Regions from separate parts of the Homo sapiens genome. Here all the other regions are linked to region 1. The links are contacts of gene promoters, found by promoter capture Hi-C in blood cells and fetal thymus (Javierre and others, 2016). All regions are on one chromosome and are shown on one strand. The core of a region is centred on a gene start or on the middle of the fragment in contact, and the rest is flanking DNA. Distances in the headings are between cores, read along the strand shown.

The links. The method cuts DNA at HindIII sites, captures the fragments that hold promoters and counts their contacts. A CHiCAGO score of 5 or more calls a contact.
Region 2: a fragment that was not itself captured here is called in contact with the fragment with the promoter of FMNL1-AS1 in region 1 in 4 of 17 cell types (fetal thymus, non-activated CD4 T cells, neutrophils and 1 more); the score reaches 6.9 in fetal thymus.
Region 3: a contact is called between a fragment that was not itself captured here and the fragment with the promoter of FMNL1-AS1 in region 1, in 1 of 17 cell types (neutrophils). The highest score is 5.7, in neutrophils.

What each region holds. Positions count from the first base shown.
Region 1 is chr17:45,240,520-45,243,019 of GRCh38, reverse strand. It overlaps FMNL1-AS1 (FMNL1 antisense RNA 1), which reads left to right and starts at 1,250. Exons shown (of 3, transcript NR_186808.1): 1 at 1,250-1,909; 2 at 2,416-2,500. It overlaps FMNL1 (formin like 1), which reads right to left. Exons shown (of 27, transcript NM_005892.4): 12 at 2,395-2,500; 13 at 1,790-1,891; 14 at 1,386-1,638; 15 at 874-1,173; 16 at 555-679. RefSeq lists an enhancer at 1,140-1,858. The HindIII fragment of the contact is 17,531 bases long and covers 1-2,500 here.
Region 2 is chr17:45,151,235-45,155,595 of GRCh38, reverse strand. HEXIM1 (HEXIM P-TEFb complex subunit 1) reads right to left here. Exons shown (of 1, transcript NM_006460.3): 1 at 3,497-4,361. All of the region lies in intron 2 of HEXIM2-AS1 (HEXIM2 antisense RNA 1), which reads left to right. Among named protein-coding and RNA genes, the nearest start is that of HEXIM1, 4.9 kb to the right of the region's middle. The HindIII fragment of the contact is 3,779 bases long and covers 433-4,211 here.
Region 3 is chr17:45,339,396-45,344,342 of GRCh38, reverse strand. No RefSeq gene overlaps it. Among named protein-coding and RNA genes, the nearest start is that of MAP3K14, 25 kb to the right of the region's middle. The HindIII fragment of the contact is 6,243 bases long and covers 1-4,947 here.

The DNA of each region.
Region 1 (2,500 bases), core at 1-2,500:
GGCCACCAGCAGAGAACCAGTAACCCAGCCTGACCACAGGCCCTGATGGGAGGCACAGGGGAAGCACAGGGAGCCTGGAGGAGGAGGGCCGCCTAACCCGGGGGATCCAGACTTGGGGCCACAAGAGCTAAAGGAAGAGCTGAACTGGCCAGCGGTAAAAAGGAGAAAGGAAAAGACATTCCAGGCAGAGGAAACAGAATGGAACAATGGCCTAGAGGCAAGAGAATACATCCTTTTGGAAAACTGGAAGTGGAATCAGGAGGGCTGAAGCCTTGGCTGCCTGTGGGAAAGTGGAAGGAAAGAGGCCTGGAGGCAGAAGAAGTGGGGTGAGGGGAGGCACCCCTCTGCAGGGATGGAGGGGAAGGCGTTTGGGAAAGCAGGATTCTGCCTGTTAGAGGTATTGGTCCAGTCTGGCTTAATGCCCATCCCTGGGCCTCCCCCTCCTCATCTGTGAAATGGCTTGGAGAAAATGACTACCCCCAGGGCCCAGCCTGATCCAGGCAACTCCCCTCTTCCTCCGGTGCCCACATGGGGAGCCAGGCAGGGCCACTCACCTGCAGCACCTTCTCATCATTGAGCTCTGTGAAGACAGTGCCGGTGATCTGGCTGGGTTTCAGTGCCACCCAGTTCAAGAGTGGCATTCGGAACTTAGTCTGGATGGGCTTCTTGGCCTTCACTCCTGGGACGGGGGTTTGGGGGCAGTGGTGAGCACTGGGGGTACTACTGGAGGGAACCTGGGCCCAGGGAGGGCTGATGGGGCAGCCAGGAGGCAGCAGGAGGCCCCCAGGCAGAGGACCCTGGAGGACACTGAGGCCCAGGCCCCTCCCTCCATCTCCCCCCAGCCCCGGGCCCAAGGTGGTCCACTCCACTCACCTGGGCCCAATTCTGAGTCGCGTCTTCCTAGGGCATCAGGAGGACCTCCGGGAGGCGGCGGCGGCGGCGGCGGCGGCGGAGGCACCGGCCCGTCAGTGCCCGGAGGTGGTGGCGGTGGCGGGGGTGGGGGCGGCAGGTCTCCGGGCAGCGGCGGCGCAGGCGGGGGCTCCGGGCTGCCAGGGAGAGGCGGGGCCTGTGGGGGCGCAGAGGGCGGGGCTTCCTGCGGGGAGGGGAGGCCGGGCAGTGGGGGCGGCGGCGGTGGCGCTGCTCCGGGAGCCGGCTCTGCTGCAGGTGCGAGATCTGAGCCAGCGAGGGCGCGGCGTGGGGGAGGCGCGAGTCAGCTCCTTGACTTGGGTGGGCCCCTCTCCGCCTCTCCGCTCTACGCATGCGCTCCTACCTGAGCCGAGCCTACAATCCAAACCTCCCTCGCCCAACTCTGCCCGCCACAGATGCCCCTGGGCTCCCCTCCAGACCCTGCCCCGCATCCCCGCCAGCCTGAAGCTCCTGCGCACCTGGGCTGGGGGAGCCGGTCGGCACCCCCGGAGTCGGAGCATCACCGCCGCTCGGAGTTGCCACAGCGACGGGGAGGATCTCGATGGAGACAGCATCCCCCGGCCCCCGCAGAATACGGATTAACCCCTTCTCCTCCAGCTCCTCCACCTTCAGCTCCAGGGCCGAGGGCCGCGTCGGGGCAGCGGGAGGCGCTTTCTCAGGCTCTGGGGGACGCCTGGAGGGCCCCATGGCGGTCGATTCGCTGAAGCGCTCCTACGAACCCCACGGGAGGGGTCAGTGCCCACCAGCAGGCTCCTTGGCACCAAGCCTCCATCTTCTTCCCGGGGTGGAGGGAGATGTCAAGCCTAGAAGCCTCAGCTGGCCTGTTCTTGGGCGCCTGGCCTACCACCCGCCCCAGCCTCACCCGCAGGGTCTCCAACTCCTTGCGCGCCTGGCTTAGCTGTTTTTCCAGTTCTGCAATCTTGGCCATGGATTCGTTCTCCGCGTCCCGAAGCCGCTCTGTCAGCTGTAGCACCAGCACATGGTGAGCCCCGACCCGCAGCCCGGCACTGGCACCGCCGGTGAGGGGGCGGCATCAGGCATGCCTGCCTGGAAGACTGGGGGAGGCTCCCAGATCCGCTCAGCCCAGGTGCCAAGGGTGGGCCGAGCCTGGCACTCGAACCCAAGCAAATAAGGAGAGGAAACCAAGGTACCAGTGATGCGGGAGGTGGAGGGAGAGGAGGAGACTGAGCTGGGAGGGGCCCCAGGCACCCATTTCAGTTCACCTGGGGTCTGAGCCTGGGTAGAGGAGGGGCCTGTCAGTGAGGGTGCTCACCCACACTCATTGAGAAAGACACCCAACAGATTCAGGCTTTGGATTCAGGCCAGGCTCTGGGGCCAGGCAGGCAGCACCTCCAATGCACAATTATAACACTGTCTGCTGCCCAGTGCCCATGCTTGCGTGGCCCTGTGGCCCGTGTGCCCTGTGGGCCTATGATGTGCTGGGCTGGGGTCAGGACCCACTCTCACCAGCGCCACTTGCTCCTGCAGTTCCTCCATGTGCTCCAGCACAGCGTTCTTGGTCTCTGTGTCCTCCAGCAGCGCCCCCACATCAAAAATATTGTCCAGGTACGCC
Region 2 (4,361 bases), core at 1,073-3,572, 88 kb after region 1:
TTGAGCAGCTCAGTTAAAATGCTTGACAGAGGACTTAAGTGAAAGGCTAGAGTGGGCTTGGGGTTCATTTATCATCAAAGCCCCCTGTTCAATGTAGGTAAATCAGCGGGGTGTGTTGGTATCCACCTTTAGTCCCAGCTACTCAGGAACCTGAGGTGGGAGGATCACTCAAGCCCAGGAATTTGAGGCTGCAGTGAGATATGATAGCGCCACTGCAGTCTAGCTTGGGCAACTGAGGGAGACCCCATCTTTTTTTTTTTTTTTCAACTTTTTTTTTTTTTTTGAGACAGGGTTTCACTATGTTACCCAGGCTGGTCTCAAACTACTGAGCTCAAGGATTCTGCCCACCTTGGCCTTCCAAAGTGCTAGGGTTACAGGTGTGAGTCACCGGGCCTGTTGAAACCCCAATTCTTTAAAAAAAAAAAAAAAGCTTTTTTTTTTTTTTTTTTTGAGACAGAGTCTTATTCTGCCACCTAGGCTGGAGTGCAGTGTGGCGTGATGTTGGCTCACTGCAACCTTTGCCTCCCGGATTCAAGTGATTCTCCTGCCTCAGCCTCCCAAGTAGCTGGGATTACAGGCACCCACCACCATGCCCAGCTAATTTTTGTGTTTTTTTGTTGTTGTTTTTGTTTTTGAGACGGAGTCTCGCTCTGTTGCCCAGGCTGGAGTGCAGTGGTGTGATCTCGGCCCACTGCAAGCTCTGCCTTCCGGGTTCACGCCATTCTCCTGTCTTAGCCTCCCGAGTAGCTGGGACTAAAGGCGCCCGCCACCACACCCAGCTAATTTTTTGTATTTTTAGTAGAGACGGGGTTTCACCATGTTAGCCAGGATGGTCTCGATCTCCTGACCTCGTGATCCGCCCGCCTTGGCCTCCCAAAGTGCTGGGATTACAGGCGTGAGCCACCACACCTGGCCAATTTTTGTATTTTTAGTAGAGACAGGGTTTCACCATGTTGGCCAGGCTGGTCTGGAACTCTTGACCTCAGGTGATCTGCCTGCCTCGGCCTCCCAAAGTGCTGGGATTACAGGCGTGAGCCACTGCGCCCGGCCTTTTTTTTTTTTTTTTTTTGAGGCTGAGTTTCACTCCTGTTGCCCAGGCCGGAGCACAATGGGGCGATCTCGGCTCACTGCAAACTCCGCATCCCGGGTTCATGCCATTCTCCTGCCTCAGCCTCTCAAGTAGCTGGGACTACAGGCACCTGCCACCATGCTCGGCTAATTTTGTATTTTGTATTTTTAGTAGAGATGAGGTTTCTCCATATTGGTCAGGCTGGTCTCTTAACTCCAGATCTCAAGAGATCCACCCACCTCAGCCTCCCAAAGTGCTGAGATTATAGGCATGAACCACCACGCCCGGCCCAACCTTTTTTTTTTTAAATTAAAATATAGGTAACTAATTGTTTTCTCTGCCAGGAGAGCAATATGCTAGTTAAATGTTTCAATAGAAAGTGAAGAAATAGGAGGCCGGGTGTGGTGGCTCACACCCATCATCCCAGCACTTTGGGAGGCCGAGGCAGGTGGATCACGAGGTCAGGAGATCGAGATCATCCTGGCTAACACGGTGAAACCCCGTCTCTACTAAAACTACAAAAAAAAAATTAGCTGAGCGTGGTGGCGGGTGCCTGTAGTCCCAGCTACTTGAGAGGCTGAGGCAGGAGAATGGCATGAACCTGAGAGGCGGAACTTGCAGTGAGCCGAGATCGCGCCACTGCACTCCAGCCTGGGCGACAGAGCAAGACTCCATCCCTCACCCCCCCCCCAAAAAAAAGAAAAGTGTAGGAATAGGCTGGGCTTGGTGGCTCACAACTGTAATTTTGGGAGGCGGAGGAGGGCGCATTGCTTGAGCCCAGGAGTTTGAGCCCAGGAGTTTGAGACCAGCCTGTGCAACAGGGTGAAACCCTGTCTCTCCAAAAAAAAAAAAAAAAAAAAAAAAATAGCCAGGCGTGGTGGCAAGTACCAGCTACTCAGGAGGCTGCAGTGGGAGGATCGCTTTAGCCTGGGAAGTGGAGGTTGCCGTAAGTCCAGATCGCGACACTGCACTCCAGCCTAGGCAACAGAGCAAGACCCATCTCAAAAAAAAAAAAAAAAAAAAGCCAGGCGCGGTGGCTTATGCCTATATTGCCAACACTTTGGGAGGCTGAGACGGGCGGATCACTTGAAGTCAGGAGTTCGAGACCAGCCTGGCAACCATGGCGAGACCCCGTCTCTACTAAAAATAGAAAAATTAGCCAGTTGCAGTGGCGTGCACCTGTAATCCCAGCTACTCGGGAGGCTGAGGCAGGAGAATCGGTTGAACCCAGGAGGCTGAGGTTGCAGTGAGCCGAAATCACGCTACTGCACTCCAGCCTGGCGACAGAGTGAGACTCCGTCTCAAAAAAAAAAAAAAAGTATAGAAAGTGTTAAAACTGAAATTTTGAATAAACCTCATCATTGTGAGAATATAAATGCAAAAAAAAAGGTAAAATGCTAGTGCCTTTGAAAGCAAAATTCAGACATACTTGCATAGCTTAAGGTAAATTGATGTATGAGAGTTATTTGTAATTAGATATTTGTGTATATATATATTTTTGAGACAGTTTCGCTCTTCTTGCCTAGGCTGGAGTGCAATGGCGCGATCTCCTCTCACTGCAACCTCCACCTCCCGGGTTCAAACGATTCTGCTGCCTCAGCCTCCCGAGTAGCTGGGATTACAGGCATGTGCCACCACACCCGGCTAATTTTTGTATTTTTAGTAGAGACGGGGCTTCTGTATGTTGGTCAGGCTGGTCTCTTAACTCCTGACCTCAGGTGATCTGCCCACCTCAGCCTCCCAAAGTGCTGGGATTACAGGCATGAGCCACTGTGCCCAGCCTAGATATCTGTATATTTGAAGACTGGGCTGAATTTGTCTTCTAAAACATACTTTTTCTGATGATAAATGCATTTATAGTCTTTCCAAGATTCATTTTCTAAATATCATTTTTCTAATACTAGGGGAAATAAGATTTTCATAGCTGAATCCCTCTTTAAGAAGAGGGTCTGGGCTGGGCGCAGTGGCTCATGCCTGTAATCCCAGCACTTTGGGAGGCCGAGGCGGGCGGATCACCTGAGGTCGTGAGTTCGAGAGCACCCTGACCAACATGGAGAAACTACGTCTCTACTAAAAATACAAAATTAGCTGGGGGTGGTGGCACATGCCTGTAATCCCAGCTACTAGGGAGGCTGAGGCAGGAGAATCGCTTGAACCTGGGAGGCAGAGGTTGCGGTGAGCCAAGATTGCACCATTGCACTCCAGCCTGGGCAACAAGAGCGAAACTCCGTCTCAAAAAAAAAAAAAAATAAAGAAAAAGGGTCTAATATCAGAGATAATCACTGCTGCATCTTACAGTTCAGTCAAAATGAGGCTTCAGCTCTGCACTGTAAAGCCAGAGGGCACTGTTGCTGCCTTTCCAAGCAGCTGTTTTTCTGGGGCTGCTGCATGACGTCATAGCAGAAGAAAAAAACACGAAGAAAACTATTTCAAAATAAATGTTTAATATAATTTTTAGACCAAAGAAAAACTCAATCATACATTGTCTCCAGTGGACCATATGTGCCAGAACAGGACCAACTCAGTCCAGCTTTGAAGGCCCTGATTCAGTCCTACTGGTATAATCTCCCTTGATTTATTGATTTGTGTATGCTTCTTATGCAATACAAGGTGCATTTTACTCTTGAAGTCCCTATCACCTCCACCATCGCCATTTAACTGCAAAAGCATGCTTCCTAATGGGAGGGTTTTCTTCCCCCTTCCCTGCAGAGGTTCTGAACCTTCAAGGAGTTTGACAATCTTATGAATCTCTTGAACCTTCTCCCCAGAAAAATGTACATACAAGTCTACAAATAATTTCATGGGGTTCATGGACCCCAAGGCCCACAATGGTTTCTAAGGCCCCAAATTAAGGAACCTCTGTGCTAGTGATTTGAGCAACGCAATTGCCCTCAGAAGACACTGACACAGGGCAGGTGAAGGACTGGGTTAACCAAAATGACAGGAGGCAATCTCATAATTTCTGTTTTTATTTTGGGGCAAAATTTAGTTCTCAGGGCCTCCCTACGTTTAAGAGCAGAACTACTCAAGAACCTAAGCAGCTATCAGCATAGTTTAAGCGATTTAGAATAGGGCTGTGCAAGGGGATGTACAGGGTTCCTCATTCAGCTGAGGACCTCATTTAGCTCCTTAACTGGAAGCTTTACATTTGATCTGCAGTGAGGGGACATTTCTAATTTTAGTTTGACCCACATGGAAAGGTGGATAGCTTTTTTTTTTTGTTTTGGTATAGAGAGCACGTAGAATTGGACAATTAGGTAAATCCTTGGAATCCCCCAAACAGCCATTTGCT
Region 3 (4,947 bases), core at 612-3,111, 100 kb before region 1:
CCCATCTTAGCCTCCTGAGTAGCTAGGACTACAGGCACAAGCCACCACACCTGGCTAATTTGTTGTTGCTTTTTTTTTTTTTTTTGAGATGGGGTCTCACTATCTTGCCCAGTCTCAGGATTTCTTAAAGCTCCCTAGTGATTCCAACAAGCAGCCAAGTTCCAGAACCATGGAGTAAAACCATTCTAGATCAGGCACAGTGGCTCTTGCCTGTAATTCCAGCACTCTGGGAGGCCAAGGTGGGCAGATCAGGAGGTCAGGAGATCAAGACCAGCCTAGCCAACATGCTGAAACCCCCTTCTCTACTAAAAACACAAAAATTAGCCGGGTGTGGTGGCGTGTGCTTGTAGTCCTAGCTACTTGGGAGGCTGAGGCAGGAGAATCGCTTGAACCCGGGAGGCAGAGGTTGCAGTGAGCCAAGATCACTCCACTGCACTCCAGCCTGGGCAACAGAGTGAGACTCCGTCTCAAACAAACAAAAAAACAAACAAACAAAAAATTTCTAAACCAGATGAAGCCAAAAAGGGGTGGGACAGTTGCGGTTGTGGTGATGAATGCCCAACATTTATGTGGACAAAGCTGTGTGATCTTGGACAAATCACTTAATGTCTTGGGGTCTCTGTTTCCTCATCTGTAAAGTGAAGATGATTCTATAACCTTCCTCATAGGGTTATTATAGGGTTGAATGGGACAATGCTTGTAAGTCCTTGGCACAGTGCCTGGCACACAGAAAACACCCAGGAACTTTAGGTTTTGCCTATTATTTTAGAGTTTACAGTGATGTTTTCTATGCAGTATCTCGAAATTATACCTTACCTCCTCAATTATAGGGGTGCACATTTTTGCATTTTAACATCTTTAAAAGTGTAATGCATAGACAGTGTCTTATATTCAGCGACATGACCCTCACCTGCGCTAAGCACTGTTCTAAGGGTTTTATGTTAATTACCTCCTTTAACTCTCACAATATCCCTAGAGAAGAGGATGATTATATCCATCCCCATTTAAGAGACTGGTAAACTGAGGCCCAGAGTGAAGTGCCTTGTCTGTGTTCCCATAGTCAGTGGCAGAACAGGGATTAACCTTGGGTCGGGCTCTAGAGTCTGTGCTCCTGACCACTCTGCTATATAGCAGCTCATGGAAACTGAAAGGCAGGTGAGGTGAGCAGAGTCATCCAGCTGGGATTTGAATCCATGACACCAAAACCACCATGCTTGTTCCCTGTCCTGCTTCTGACTGGAGGCCGATTCCCAGCTGCAGCTGGGGGAGAAGTCCACATGTGGCTGTCAGTGTGTCTGCACAGAGGGGGAGCTGAGACCTAGGGTGAGAAAGAGGGTGATTTGTCCATATTCACACAGTGGCAAAGCTGGGGTTAGGATCTGGGTGTAGATGCCAGAGCCTGTCTCTCTTTCCCTACCCACCCCCAGGGCCTAGCCCCTCTGCTCTGCTCCCCACCCTCCTAGCAAGGCAGGAAAGAATCTGAGAAGGCTGGGCACAGTGGCTTACAACTATAATCCCAGCACTTTGAGAGACCAAGATGGGAGGATTGCTTGATTTACCTACCCTGCCTGGTCTGCCTGGCTGGTGCCCCCTTTCCTTCTCTCCCCTCTTCCTGTGCTAGCCGCGTCTCCTCTCTCGCCGACCTCCATAGGCAACCACTAGGGTATATTCTCTGGCCCATCTGACATGATATTAGCCAGTGTCAACGGCAGGGATGAATTCTTTCCTACCATCCCAAGGCACATCGGGCCCCCCGCCTCACACGTGTTCTGCTCACCATGCATCCGCCTGTACGATGGATCCTGGGCCCTCGCCCTCACCATCCCAGCACAAGAGGGAGTCTCATCATAGTGGCTCCTATCCCTTCAGTGTGTACTCTGCCCCACCCGGCATTCTGCTAATTGTTGCATGTGCACGCCTCAGTTTCCCCACAGCTGCCCCATGAGCCCGGTGGAATGATTACCCCCACTTTGAAGGTAACAAGCCTGAGGGACTCAGGCTGAGCAGCTTGCTGAGATGGAACATGAACCCAGGTCCGTGTGACTTCCACACCCGTCTTCCAGGAAATATTTGTGGAATCCATCATTTTATTACATTACAATATTAATCCATACAATAATGGGTTCAACAAATATTTCCTGGGTTCCTCTCGTGGGCTGGCTGAGCTGGGCATAGCATGGTGAGCAGAGCAGGGTGAGTCTCAGCCTTCAGGGAACTTAGAACCAACTGGGCCAATGGACTCGATTTGAAGACTCACACCCGGATGCGGTGCAGCTTCAGATGCAGAGGGCCGTGGAAGAGGCCAGCGGGAGGCTGGAGCCAGCAGGAACCGTGGAGCCTGTTTCAGCAGAGTGGCAGGAAGTGAGGAAGGGAGGCCTGGAGAAGGAGCCAGCCTACCTTCAGGAGTCAAGGGGGCAGGACTTTGCTGGTATGGGGAGGGCCTCGAGCAAGCGTCCAGCCACGCCCCCTCCTCCCCTACTGGGAGAGCCACAGGATGCCCCAAGAGCAAGAGAGCAGGCAGAGCCCTGACAGGATCCAAGTCGAGTCATTAAGAGACTCTCCGCCTGGGTGGATCCACTGTCAGTCTCAGCACCCACCAGCTCCCATCCTCCTCTGGCAAAGGAGAGGTCATCCCCCAGGTCCATGGCTGACGGGGCAGAGGACCGTATTTGTCATCCAGCTCCAGCTCAGATTCTTAGGAAATAACAAAGTAACAAGAGATCAGAGAGGTCTAACTCAGTCAGAGGCGCTGGCAGATTTTAATCAAAAACAGCACAGAAGTTAAAACCTTAACCCAAACCATCCCTGCCAGATAAATTCAGTCTCTCCTGGAAGTTCTTTATAAAGGGTTCTCCATGCACTGCACAGTACACAGTCATCAGTTTCTGTGCTTAAATAATACTCATGGGCTGTGAATCCTTCTTCACCCTAAGCCTAAATCTTCTTTACTGGAATCTAACATGAATACCAGCTTCTCACTATATTTCTATTTGTGAGATAATATATATTTGAAGATGGTAAATTGTTTTCCAATACAAACTTAAAAATTACACCAGTCGCAGTGACTCACATCTGTAATCCCAGCACTTTGGGAGGCTGAGGCAGGAGGATGGCTTGAGGCCAGGAGTTTGAGACCAGCCTGGGCAACATGGCAAAACCCCTTCTCTACTAAAAGTTTTAAAAATTAAAAAATCCGGGCATGGTGGCACACACCTGTAGTCCCATCTACTCAAGAGACTGAGGTGGGAGGATCGCTTGAGCCCAAGAGGTCAAGGCTGCAGTGAGCTATGATCGGGCCATTACACTCCAGCCTGGGAAACAGAATGAGACCCTGTCTCAAACAAACAAACAAACAAACAAACAACTTAAAAATTTTGTGGCTCACACCTACAATCCAGCACTTTGGGGGGCCAAGGCAGGTGGATCATTTGAGGTCAGGAGTTCCAGACCAGCCTGGCCAACATGGTAAAACCCTGTCTCTACTAAAAATACAAAAAAAATTACCTGGGCATGGTGGTGTGCGCCTGTAATCACAGCTAATGGGTAGACTGAGGCAGGAGAATCGCTTGAACCCAGGAGGCCGAGGTTACAGTGAGCTGAGATCACACTACTCCACTCCAGCCGGGGTGACAGAGTGAGACTCTTGTCTCAAAAAAAAAAAAAAAAAAGTAAAAATTAAAGATGACCCTAGAGCTTTGATGTAAAATGGCAGGGTTATCTTAAGCCACTTTGCTCCTTTGGTTCTGTTGGCACTGAGACAGCCAGTGAGGAGGAGCAGGGGCACAGGAAGGAGGGTGCAACTGCAGCACAGCCAAGGAGACAGGGACCAGGTCCCACCCCAGCCTTAAGCAGGGCAAAGACAGGAGCCCAGATGCCCAGGGACCCCTGTGAACCACCCGTCAGCACATCCCAGAAAGGTCCTGAGGACTCCAGAGTCACTCCAGTCCTTCTCACCTACCTTGTCACAAGAACCATCACACACACACACACATACATACTGACTGGCATGAACATTTTGGGGTGTCAGATGTAACAGTGCCAACTGAGGGTAGGCTTGACAGATCTAAATGCTTGTCCCAACTTTGCCCTTTCTAGCTGTGTGACCTTGGACAGGTACCTAACCTCTCTGATGGTTGGTATCCTCTCTGGGAGAATGGGGTGAAGACTCACACAAGACAACCCTCATGGGGTAGTTCTGAGGACCGATGGAGTCATGGAGCCAAAGTGGCTTGTGAACTGGACTAACACGACGTATTAGATTCATGGTTGCCTTAGGTCTGACCCTGAGCAGGAGTCCAAGAGGGACAGGCAGGAGAGGAGAAAGAAGTGAAAGGTGTGGCAGCCCTGGAAATGTCCCTAAGCCCCAAAGCTAGGCACCTTGCTGCTGTTGGGGTCTCTGCCAGGGTCTGAGGTGAACATACATGGTGAAAACAGTCGGGGGTTATCTGGGTCAGGTCCTGGACCTGACACTTTTCATGGGATCATCTCAAAAGAGCACGAGGGCTGGACATGGTGACTCATGTCTGTAATCCCAGCACTTCGGGAGGCCAAGCAGCAGGAGCCTCACTTGGGGTCAGGAGTTCAAGACCAGCCTGGCCAACATGGTGAAACCCCATCTCTACTAAAAATACAAAATTTAGCCGGGCATGGTGGCATGTCCCTGTAGTCTCAGCTACTCAGGAGCCTGAGGCAGGAGAATCGCTTAAACTTGGGAGGTGGAGGTTGCAGTGAGCCAAGATCATCCCATGCACTCCAGCCTGGAGCAACAGAGGGAGACTACGTCTCAAAACAAAACAAAACAAAACAAAAAAAAGCACCAGGAGGCAAGCATTTTGGTTTTCCCATTCTACAGAAGAGGAAACTGGGGCTTGGGGAGGTTCAGTTTTTAGGCTGGGCTGGCATTCCCCTGGGTGCTAATGGCTATGCTGTATGGCTGTGTAGGGGGTA